2 separate regions of the Homo sapiens genome follow, and region 2 is linked to region 1. Evidence: promoter capture Hi-C in human tissues and cell types (Jung and others, 2019). All regions are on one chromosome and are shown on one strand. Each heading gives the region's core, a stretch centred on a gene start or on the middle of the fragment in contact. The rest is flanking DNA. Distances are from core to core; before and after follow the strand shown. Region 1 overlaps TRPM4 (transient receptor potential cation channel subfamily M member 4). Region 2 holds the start of CGB7 (chorionic gonadotropin subunit beta 7).

Region 1 (4,832 bases), core at 972-3,471:
GGAGGCTGAGATAGGAGAATCGCTTCGATCTGGGAGGTGGAGGTTGCAGTGAGCTGAGATCGTGCCATTGCACTCCAGCCTGGGCAACAAGAGCAAAACTCCATGTAAAAAGTAAAGTACAGGTTCCTCTTCAAAGACTTTCCTCCCCATCTAATTAACAATAAATAGTAACTTCTCTTAGAAACAAAATTTATTCAAACACCTGTGCTAACATTCTTAAATATCTACTAGCCATAAAAAATAAATCAATGTACTTTATGTTCTTAGCTCTCACAATTTAGCCTAAATATTTGCCCTGACATACTTATACTGGTTCAAGCAAGCATTAGATCATAGCCTGTTCCTCTTCCTTATTTAAAAGTGTTTTTACCTTTCTCAACATTCCACAAGTTACTTCCTCCTTCCTTTGTTCTCCTCTGCCTTCGCTTCTTTTAAAAACTTCTAAGTTACTAGCCAATCAAGACAAATACAAAATGTAAAGTCCGGTTCCAGCCAATAAAAACCAGACACAGCAGTAAAATAGACGCGTCAGGTTATAAATGACCCTATCTCCTTTGTTCCGTGTACTCTCATGACAAAACTGCTGGCGAGTGTACCCTTTCTACAAAAAATAAAAATGGCTTTACTAAAAAAATTAAATTTATGTTCAAGTACTATTTCTTTACGACACCACAAAATAAACATTTCTAACATCCATCTCAAAAAAAAAGAAAAAAAAAAAGAAAAAAGAAAGACAGACAGAAAGACAGAGGGGGTGGGGTAGGCAGAGACCCAGAGAGATGATGATGGGGAATATAGGGTATCACTCAGAGATCCAGAGAAAGAGGGAGACAGAGACTCAGAGAGACAGATATTTTCTTAGAGCCAGGAGGACAGAGACCCAGGGAGCGGGGACAGAGACTCAGAGGAAGGCTGTCAGGCCGTCATCCCCCCTACCGTCCATGTCCTCCTGGGGAATCTGCCCGAAGATCTGCAGGTAGGGACGGTAGAAGACGCGGCGCAGGATACTTGGGAAGTCACTGTCCCGTGGCCTCAGGAGCCCCTCCGTGGCCACGCCATAGGCTACCAGCCACACGCCGAGGAAGAAGAGGAAGAAGAACACGTCCTTCATCTGTGGGGAGATGTGGCTGAGTCTGGCCCCGCCCTTTCCTACTCTGGCCCCACCCCTATATCCCAAAAACACGCCCCATTGCTCCCCAAAGTCACGCCCCTTCTCCACGGACCACTCCCTCCCTGGCCCCACCCCTTTCCCTATGTCCCCGCCCACTTTGGCCCCGCCCCTGCCTCACCATCTTGCTCACGATGACGATCTTGGGCCCCAGCTGTTTGTTGACCGTGAAGATGTGAAGCAGCCGCACCGTGAAAACCATGAAGTCGATGCAGAGGACAGTGCGGCCCAGGTGGTACAAACCCGGGGTCAGCCTGGGGTGTGGGGAGATGCCACAAGGGTCAAGTGTCACAAGACGCCAAGGAAAATGGAAGTCTTCCCAATGCCATCCTTCAGAGGAAGCTGCAGCCTCCACCGGGCAGGACCAGGACCCTCCCAGTCACCCGGGGTTTACTCAAATTTATTCAGTACCAAGCTGGTCCATGCAGGGCCCTGGCACCCATTTTTAAAATGGCTGCGCCTATTAAGTAATGACTGAATGAACGATGGCCTTAGCAAAGAGCTGGTCCCTGTAAGAATCAAGCTGGAAAAACTGCCGGAATATCTGTCCAACCTATAAAAGGCAAAACATATAGAGTCCTTACAAACTAATACGCAAAAGGAAGGAAGCCAGATAAAGGATACCACGTACAATTCACAGAGGACGTTCAAACGGCCAGTAAACATCAATAATTCCTATGGGGAAAATAAAAATTCTACCCCTATTTTGCATCCTCATGTACTTAAACTTTGGATGGATTAAAAACCTAGTGTATGGACAGACGCGGTGGCTCACGCCTGTAATCCCAGCACTTTGGGAGGCCGAGGCAGGCTCAAAAAAAAGAAAAGAAAAGAAACATACAAAAGTGAAAGTGAAAAGACAAGCCACAGACTTCGAGAAGATATGAAGATATTAAGACCAACAAAACTACCGAGGATTAGGATCCAGAGTATAAGGAGTATATACATTTATACATATACAAATCAATGAACCCCAATTAAAAAAACGGGAGGGTGGCCGGTCGCAGTGGCTCACGCCTGTAATCCTAGCACTTTGGGAGGCCGAGGCGGGCGGATCACGGGGTCAGGAGATCGAGAACATCTTGGCTAACACGGTGAAACCCCGTCTCTACTACAAAATACAAAAAATTAGCCGGGCGTGGAGGCAGGCACCTGTAGTCCCAGCTACTCAGTAGGCTGAGGCAGGAGAATGGCGTGAACCCGGGAGGCGGAGGTTGCAGTGAGCCGAGATCGCGCCACTGCACTCCAGCCTGGGCTACAGAGCGAGACTCCGTCTCAAAAACAAAAACAAAAACAAAAACCAAAAAAAAAACAAGGGGGCACAAGGACATATGGCCATTAAGCTTAGGAAAAGATGTCCAACCTATCTGGTAGTCAAGAGTGCATAAATTATAACAAGGAGAGGTCATGTTTACCCATTAAATTGGCAAATTTTTTTTCAGTTAAATTGAGAGCTACATTTTAGAGTGAAAGTATCAGGCATTGTCGAGCATGGCCTCAAGGGGGCACTCTCTTACCCTGATGGCAGGTGTGGAAATGAGTGAAGCTACTTAGAAGGAAATCTATCCATGTCAAAAATAAATGTACCCTTTGACCCATAAACTTTACATCTGGGATGTAAACTTTTATTATTTTGGAATAATAAAAAAACAGAAGGCTGAGCATAGTAGCTCACGCCTGTAATCCCAGCACTTTGAGAGGCCAAGGTGGGAGGATTGCTTGAGCCCTGGAGTTTGAGACCAGCCTGGGCAACAGAGTGAGACCCTGTCTCTATTTAAAACAAAAAAAGAAAGAAAGAGAGAACCTAAATGTCCATCTAGAGGGAACTGGCGAAACAAAGGATGATTCATCCATTCAATTCCGGAGATGATTAGACATTTCTCCCTTTTTTTTTTTTTTTTTTTTTTGACAGAGTTTTGCTCTTTTCACCCAGGCTAGAGTGCAGTGGCATGATCTTGGCTCACTGCAACCTCCGCCTCCCAGGTTCAGGCAATTATCCTGCCTCAGCCTCCCGAGTAGCTGGGATTACAGGCGCCTGCCACCATGCCCGGCTAATTTTTTGTATTTTTAGTAGAGATGGGGTTTCACCATGTTGGGCAGGCTGGTCTCAAACTCCTGATCTCAGGTGATCCACCCGCCTCGGCCTCCCAAAGTGCTGGGATTACAGGCATGAGCCACCACGCCAGGCCCGTTTCTCCCTTTTAAGCTGAGATCTTTCCATTTTTCACCTGGAAAGTGGTAGGCTTGATAAACTGTCCAAAATATCACTGGCAATCCTAGAGCATGGTAGCATATGGCCTTAGCCCTTTCATCTCAAAAGTCACTTTATACAAAATACAACAAATTACAAACAGAAGTATTAGTGTTCTGCAAAACTCTCATATCTTGCTCCCTGCTTGAATAAATTATTTATGTTGAATCACTTTGTAACACTGCTAACATAGCTTAGAGGAAGCCTGCCTCTCAGCGTGTCTACTGGGAAAAGCTTGAGTAGGGATCATCACTGTCATCACTGTCAACCATTCAGGATGTGTCAGGTCCCTTGTAAACAGTCACCAGGTTGTTGGCCAGGCACGGTGACCCACATCTGTAATCTCAGCACTTTCAGAGGCTAAGGCCAGTGGATCACTTGAGGCCAAGAGTTCAAGACCAGCCTGGTCAATATGGCAAAGCCCCATCTCTACAAAAAAAATACAAAAAAAATTTAGCTAGGTGTAGTGGTGCATGCCTGTAATCCCAGCTACTCACGAGGCTGAGGCAAGAGAATCGCTTGAACCCAGGAGGTGGAGGTTGCAGTGAGCCAAGATCGTACCACTGCACTCCAGTCTGGGCGACACAGCGGAACTCTGGCTCAAAAAAAAAAAAGAAAAGAAAGAAAACAAAAACAAACAAACAAACAAAAAACCAGTCACCAGGTTGTATCCACAAACTTTTCTGTTTGCTCTCCTCAAAAGGAGGAGTATCCTAATGCAGGATACTCCATAATGCAGGCAGGGCAAGGGTTAAACCCTTAGCTTGGAGGGATGGAAGGAAGCATAGAAGGAAGGAAGGAAGGAAGGAAGGAAGGAAGGAAGGAAGGAGGGAGGGAGGCAGAGGGGCAGAGGACAGAGGGAGAGAGAGAGAAAGAAAAGAGAAAAAGAAAAAGAAAAGAAAGGAAAAGAAAAGAGAAAGAAAGAAAAGAAAGAGAGAGAAAGAAAGAAAGAAAGAAAGAAAGAAAGAAAGAAAGAAAGAAAGAAAGAAAGAAAAAGAAAGAAAGAGAAAGAAAGAAAGAAAAAAAAAGGAAAGAAAGAAAAAGTCGGGGGCAGGAGGGCAAGGGGCCTGGGACCAACGAGCTATGTGGAGGAAGAGAAGGGAGGAGGTGAGGTTGGCACCCAGGTCGGGGCGCTCCCATAAATATCTGTTAAACTTCAGGCCTAGCAATAAATAGCAGCAGAGGCTGAGTGGCGGACAGTGGGGTTTTCTCCTGAATCCTGCCGTCCCTGAAGCCAGATCTCCAGGTGCCAGCCAATTACCCTGGGGCAATCGTCATGCCCGACTTTCCTAAGAGGGGTTCTCAATCAGCAGGGTTGGCTTGACCTGCTGCCCAGCTGCGGGGAAGCCGGGAGTGGAGACCCCGGGAGTGGGCAGGAAGGATGAGAGGTGGCCAGGGGCCAGGGTTCCAAGG
Region 2 (6,142 bases), core at 3,643-6,142, 140 kb after region 1:
GGGTAATTCTGTATTTTTAGTAGAGAAGGGGTTTCACCATGTTGACCAAGCTGGTCTGGAACTCCTCACCTCAGGTGAGCCGCCCATCTCGGCCTCCCAAAGTGCCGGGATTACAGGTGTGAGCCACCATGCCTGGCCTTATTTTTACTTTTGAGACAGAGTCTCACTCTTGTCGCCCAGGTGGCAGGGGAGTGGTGCACTCTCTGCTCACTGCAACCTCGGCCTCCTGGGTTCAAGTGATTCTCCTGCCTCAGCCTACTGAGTAGCTGGGATTACAGGCGTGCAGCACTATGCCCGGTTAATTTTGGTATTTTTGGTAGAGATGAGGTTTCACCATGTTGGCCAGGCTGCTCTGGAACTCCTGACCTCAAGTCATCCACCTGCCTCAGCCTCCCAGAGTGCTGGGATTAGAGGTGTGGGGCACAGTGCCTGGCCTGTAGTAGTTGAATATTTATTATTAATCTACAAGTTGCGCATTACGCAAGCCCTAGATATAGGGTCCCCCAAACTTCTAGAACAAGGGCTTCCCCACAATCCTGGCAGGCAAGCCTCCCCTGGGGTTCCCAACTTCTTTCCCCACTGAAGTTTTTACCCCCTTCTCTAATCCCAGCCTCCCTCTTTCTGTCTCCAGGTGCTCCGAGAGATGCTCCCTCTCCCCTCATGCTCCCTCCCCATCCTCCTCCTTTTCCTCCTCCCCAGTGTGCCAATTGAGTCCCAACCCCCACCCTCAACATTGCCCCCTTTTCTGGCCCCTGAGTGGGACCTTCTCTCCCCCCGAGTAGTCCTGTCTAGGGGTGCCCCTGCTGGGCCCCCTCTGCTCTTCCTGCTGGAGGCTGGGGCCTTTCGGGAGTCAGCAGGTGCCCCGGCCAACCGCAGCCGGCGTGGGGTGAGCGAAACTGCACCAGCGAGTCGTCGGGGTGAGCTGGCTGTGTGCGATGCAGTCAGTGGCTGGGTGACAGACCGCCGGACCGCTGTGGACTTGCGTGGGCGCGAGGTGGAGGTGTTGGGCGAGGTGCCTGCAGCTGGCGGCAGTCCCCTCCGCCAGTACTTCTTTGAAACCCGCTGCAAGGCTGATAACGCTGAGGAAGGTGGCCCGGGGGCAGGTGGAGGGGGCTGCCGGGGAGTGGACAGGAGGCACTGGGTATCTGAGTGCAAGGCCAAGCAGTCCTATGTGCGGGCATTGACCGCTGATGCCCAGGGCCGTGTGGGCTGGCGATGGATTCGAATTGACACTGCCTGCGTCTGCACACTCCTCAGCCGGACTGGCCGGGCCTGAGACCCATGCCCAGGAAAATAACAGAGCTGGATGCTGAGAGACCTCAGGGATGGCCCAGCTGATCTAAGGACCCCAGTTTGGGAACTCATCAAATAATCACAAAATCACAATTCTCTGATTTTGAGCTCAATCTCTGCAGGATGGGTGAAACCACATGGGGTTTTGGAGGTTGAATAGGAGTTCTCCTGGAGCAACTTGAGGGTAATAATGATGATGATATAATAATAATAGCCACTATTTACTGAGTGTTTACTGTTTCTTATCCCTAATACATAACTCCTCAGATCAACTCTCATGGATTTGATCATTGGTGGCCCTTGGTGTTAAGTTGCTGACTACTCAGTCTCAGAGGACACCACCTTGCTGGGGAGTGGGAGGGGACATTTCACGATGTGGGTGGAGGAGGAGAGAAACTAGAACAGGCAAGCAGATGGCCAGGGGACCTTGAGAACGTGGCCCACAGAAGGCCTTTAAGTATCTGGGAGATGGGGTTCAAATGGGAAATCTTACTTGGTAAGAGGGGGCAAAGGTTGACTTAGAATATTCTGTTTTGAGGTAATAAGCTACCGATCACAGAGGAGTACAAGCAAGGTTGAATGAGAAGTGATCAGGATGCTGGAGAGTTCAGCCCTCGGCAGGGAGCTGAAGTCAGGTTTCTAGCCCTCTTCCCTGTCCCAACCTTTACTCTACATTGGGAAAGAAACAGACCTTAAAATTTTCCAGCTTGATGGCCAGGTGCGATGGCTCATTCCTGTAATCCCAGCACTTTGGGAGGCCGAGGTGGGTGAATCACCTGAGGTCAGGAGTTCGAGACTAGCCTGGCCAACATGGTGAAAACCCGACTCTACTAAAATTATATAAAGAAATTAGCTGGTCGTGGTGGCGGATGCCTGTAATCCAAGCTACTCTGAAGGGTGAGGTAGGAGAATTGCTTGAACTCAGGAGGCAGAGGTTGCAGTAAGCCAAGACTGTACCATTGCACTCCAGCCTTGGCAAAAAGAGCGAAACTCCATTTCAAAAAAAAGAAAAAAATTTTGTCCAGCTTGAGTGGGGCATGAGTTTCTGACTAACTCATCGGCCCCCTGGCTAGGATCAGGGGGTCACTGTCCATTGAGAGCTGTTGAGTAGGGCCAGCAAAATCCAACAGAAAGGCCCCAGAAGCCTGAATGGGGGAGGAGGGGTAAGTGGGATCCTGGGCATGGCTGCAGAAAGTAGCCTCAGTTTTCCTTGTCTGCAGAATGGGCTGGTAGGATGAGATAATGGGGGTTGAGCAGTCAGAGGCCTTGACCAAAAGCTTTTTTTTTTTTTTTTTTTTTTTTTTTTTTTTTGAGATGGAGTCTCGCTCTGTCACCCAGGCTGGAGTGCAGTGGTGTGATCTGAGCTCACTGCAGCCTTCACCTCCCGGGTTGAAGTGATTCTTCTGCCTTAGTTGGGATTACAGGTGTGCGCCACCACGCCCGGCTACTTTTTGTATTTTTTGGTAGAGACAGGGTTTCGCCATGTTGGCCGGGCTGGTCTCAAACTCCTGACCTCAAGTGATCCGCATGCCTCGGCCTCCCAAAGTGCTGGGATTACGGGCATGAGCCACTGCGCCCGGTGATCAAAAGCTGTTTATAGTGAAGAAGTGACAAGGGAAGCCAGGGACAGACCACAGGCCTTCACAATAGCCCTTCACATGTTACCCATCGCCCCACCAACTCTCTCTCTCTCTCTCAGGTCCAGCTTTGAGCAAAGGACATAGGCAACTTCTCCCCGCATCTATACAGACCAGGCCCCTGGGCAGGGTGGGGCGTGGCTGCCTCAGTTTCTACGTCTCCTTGTTTTCCATCTGTGACTTTGGTCGTTTTTGCCACCTTCATCTCTGTCTCTAACTTCCAGTGTCTGTCGCCTCTGGGTAGTACTAATAGCTCCCTTTCCATCGTGGTCTCTTTCTTCCTCCCTGTCTCTCCCCTTTCTTGTTGTATTTATTCCTCACTCATCAAAGCCCATCTTTTTCGCTATGGTCCGGTGCACTTCTCTCTAGATCCCTTTCTCTTTCCCCACCCAGCCTACCCAGGTGGAAGTTTTCAACCAAATCAAAGGCAGGCAGGACAGCTGACACCAGCGCTGACTCCTTCAGCACGTGCGGGAAGGGTTGGGGAGCCCCGGGGACATCTGGAAATCGTTACCCCGAGGTGGGCAGGCCTGGCAGAGGGAGGAAGCAGCCAGGAGGTTCTGGACCCTGGAGCAAAGGGGGGTGTTTCTCATGGATGTCCTGAGGTGCTGGGGGCAGTGCAGGGGTCTCTGTCTGTATCTCTGACACCCCCAGGTCTCTGTCCTTCTTTCTGTGTCTCTGTCTCCCCCACCCCCTGGGTCTCTGAAATCCTGAACTTCTCCATCCCCTTCTGTCCGCCTCTTTCTGACTCTCCATCCCCCACTCCGTGTTTCTCTGTGCCCCTCTTGGAGTCCCTGTCTCTCTGTCTCTGGGTCTCTTAATCACTCCATCCATCCATGTGCCTGCAGGCCTTTCATTGGCTGGATTGGGGTGGGCGGGTTCTGTCACCTGGGGCAACAGCAACAAACCAGCTCCTGCTTGGCTACAGGGAGGGGGTGGAACCATGGCCAGTGGCACCCTGGCTGTGCGCTGTGGCCCCCCGTGGTCTTTCATCTCTGCAACCGAGATGCCTGAATCCTGGCCCAACTGGCATCTCACCAGCAGCTACGTTACCCATGGCATTATCCCACCCGTACCCTTCCCCCCGCCCACGGTGCAGGTGGGCAGACCCTAGGCTGAAGCCCTGCGGGGCCTGGGGACCCAGAAAGATGGGGGCTGAGAAAAGGGGATTGGGAGCTTGGACTCCTCTCTGAAGGAGGAGGGTCCTGGAGTCCTGGGTCTGAGAGAGGAGGCGCCAGGGAATTTGGATGCCAGGGACTGCAGAGGAAAGGGCTGGGGGCCGACTGGAAGAGGTCAGAGTTTGGGGTGGGGGGTGATAGGGACTCCTGAGTCTTTCTAGCTGATGTGCGGCGCCTTCTCTCCAGTCCACGGTCGCGGACCCTCTACCTCCGACTGCAAAGCAGGATTCTCGCATCTGGGCTTTCGACGAGGTCCTCAGCAGATGGGAGACAACCTCTGGCTCGGCCTACGTGCCCAAGACCCATGGCGGGCCCTGCGCCCAGCCCAGAGCCCCAGAGCCTGCAGACCCCACGCGGACTGTGGGGATCAAGGATTCAGGAGAAAAGGTAAGATTTGGGGAGCGCCGGAGTCTGCGGGGGACTGCATTTGAGTCCCCTGCTCCTTCACATGAGTCTCTGGGTTGCCTTTCCGCAGCTCAGACACCGCAGCTGAACCCTCCTACTGACCACAAAGTACCAGAGCAGCGAGACGAGGGCGCAGTACACTTGCTCTCCCGGCCCGGACGCGCGCGCCCCCAAATACGTCGGGCCCCAGCCCCTCACAACTCTCGGACCACCACCGCGGGGGGCCTTCCCAGGTGTCTGGGTGGAAGCCGGCGCTGGCGAGACCAGCGGAGCTCCGGGAGCCTGGGGCGGGGCCAGAAGGAAATCACAGCTTTGGGGCGTGGCTAAAGGATCTGGGGCGGGATCGGGAGGTTAGAGGAGCGGGAGGAAGGGCTGGGCATCCACGCCAGGCCAGAAGGACCAGGGGCTGGAAACTCGCCTTCAGGGCTCCTAAGCTGCTGCGGAGCTAGACGGCGGGCTGTGGGTGGGGAGGAGACTAGAATATTCTGAGACGTGGTAGGGTGGGAGTTAGGAGAGGTAACCTGGAGTTGTTGCCCAAGATGCAGCTCAGCTCCAGTGGCCACACCAAGAAGGCTTGAGACCGGGGGCAGAACCAGGGGGATTTTGTGGTGGCTGGGGGCCTGCATTTGAGTTCCTTGACCAGCAGGAGGGCTTGGATTTAGGGAGGTGAGGCTGGGAAGGGTTCGGGTATGAGAAAGGAAGCTGAAGTTCCCTGGCGTGGGTGGCAGGAAGGGCTCTGACCCTGGGGCGGGGTGTGAGGGCCGTGGCCGTCATGGCTGTCGAGGCCGAAGGAGAGGGATTCTGAACTCGGGACCCAGGACTTGGGATGGGGTATGAAATCTATGTCTTGGGTATGCCTCCTCCCCCAATCTTGCTCAGGCTCTAATCGCCTGCACGAAGAACCCCGCGCTGTCTGGCCCACCCTTCACAGTATCCGACCGGGGCGTCCTGAACCGCCGCCAGCTCTATCTGACCACCTCGGCGCGGGACTTTCGGTTCTATCCCAAGTAAGCCGGGCTCTCGCTCGGCACCGCCTCCTGCACAGCCCCCGCCATGGCCGGTGCACGCCGAGCCCCTGGGCTGGCTCCCATTCCCTGACCGGTGGTCTCAGTCTCGACTCCTATAGCAGCAACAACCACAGTTCAGACCCCAGCCCCTCCCTCTTTTAGCACCCAGGAGTCCTTAGTGTCACCTCCAGGAACCGCGGTAGGGACAGGAAGCCTGCACAGCGGCTCGAGGGGATTCTGGATCTGAGGGCAGGGCCTCCTTCGGTACTTGAGCCCCCACATGCTCCTTCGCAAGGAAGCGAAAGCCCCCGTTTCCTTCCCTAGGATGCGAAAGCTCAGCTTCCAGGACGTTAAGTACCTCGAGGACCCAGGAACGCAGGCAACGCGTGCCCGGTCGCGTCCTTCCTAAGGGGTGCTCGCCTGGAAATGCAGGAGTTTGAATGTGCAGACTCCTTAGATCCCGAGGTCTGAAACTCGTCCCCAAGGATCCAGCTGTATCCTCACCATCCCGCCCTGCTCCCACAGGACGGAGCCGTCCGGATACCCCCGCAAGGACTACCTGACCTACTGGAGCTTAGAAGAGACGCCCCAACTCTGGAGTCACGACCCGCAGCGGCAGCCC

What was found. The method cuts DNA at HindIII sites, captures the fragments that hold promoters and counts their contacts. A contact is called where the count stands out against the background at its distance.
Region 2: the fragment with the promoter of CGB7 here is called in contact with a fragment that was not itself captured in region 1 in 3 of the 25 tissues and cell types used here (dorsolateral prefrontal cortex, lymphoblastoid cells and mesendoderm cells).

The regions. Positions count from the first base shown.
Region 1 is chr19:49,196,890-49,201,721 of GRCh38, reverse strand. TRPM4 (transient receptor potential cation channel subfamily M member 4) reads right to left here. Exons shown (of 25, transcript NM_017636.4): 18 at 1,290-1,422; 19 at 937-1,111. Among named protein-coding and RNA genes, the nearest start is that of TRPM4, 42 kb to the right of the region's middle. RefSeq lists a silencer at 4,637-4,832. The HindIII fragment of the contact is 7,245 bases long and covers 1-4,832 here.
Region 2 is chr19:49,056,499-49,062,640 of GRCh38, reverse strand. It overlaps CGB7 (chorionic gonadotropin subunit beta 7), which reads left to right and starts at 4,892. Exons shown (of 5, transcript NM_001385261.1): 1 at 4,892-5,179; 2 at 5,393-5,520; 3 at 6,046-6,142. NTF4 (neurotrophin 4) reads left to right here. Exons shown (of 2, transcript NM_006179.5): 2 at 632-1,513. The coding sequence starts at 644. The coding sequence ends at 1,276. It also overlaps the pseudogene LOC124904739. RefSeq lists an enhancer at 5,612-6,142. The HindIII fragment of the contact is 5,956 bases long and covers 1-4,987 here.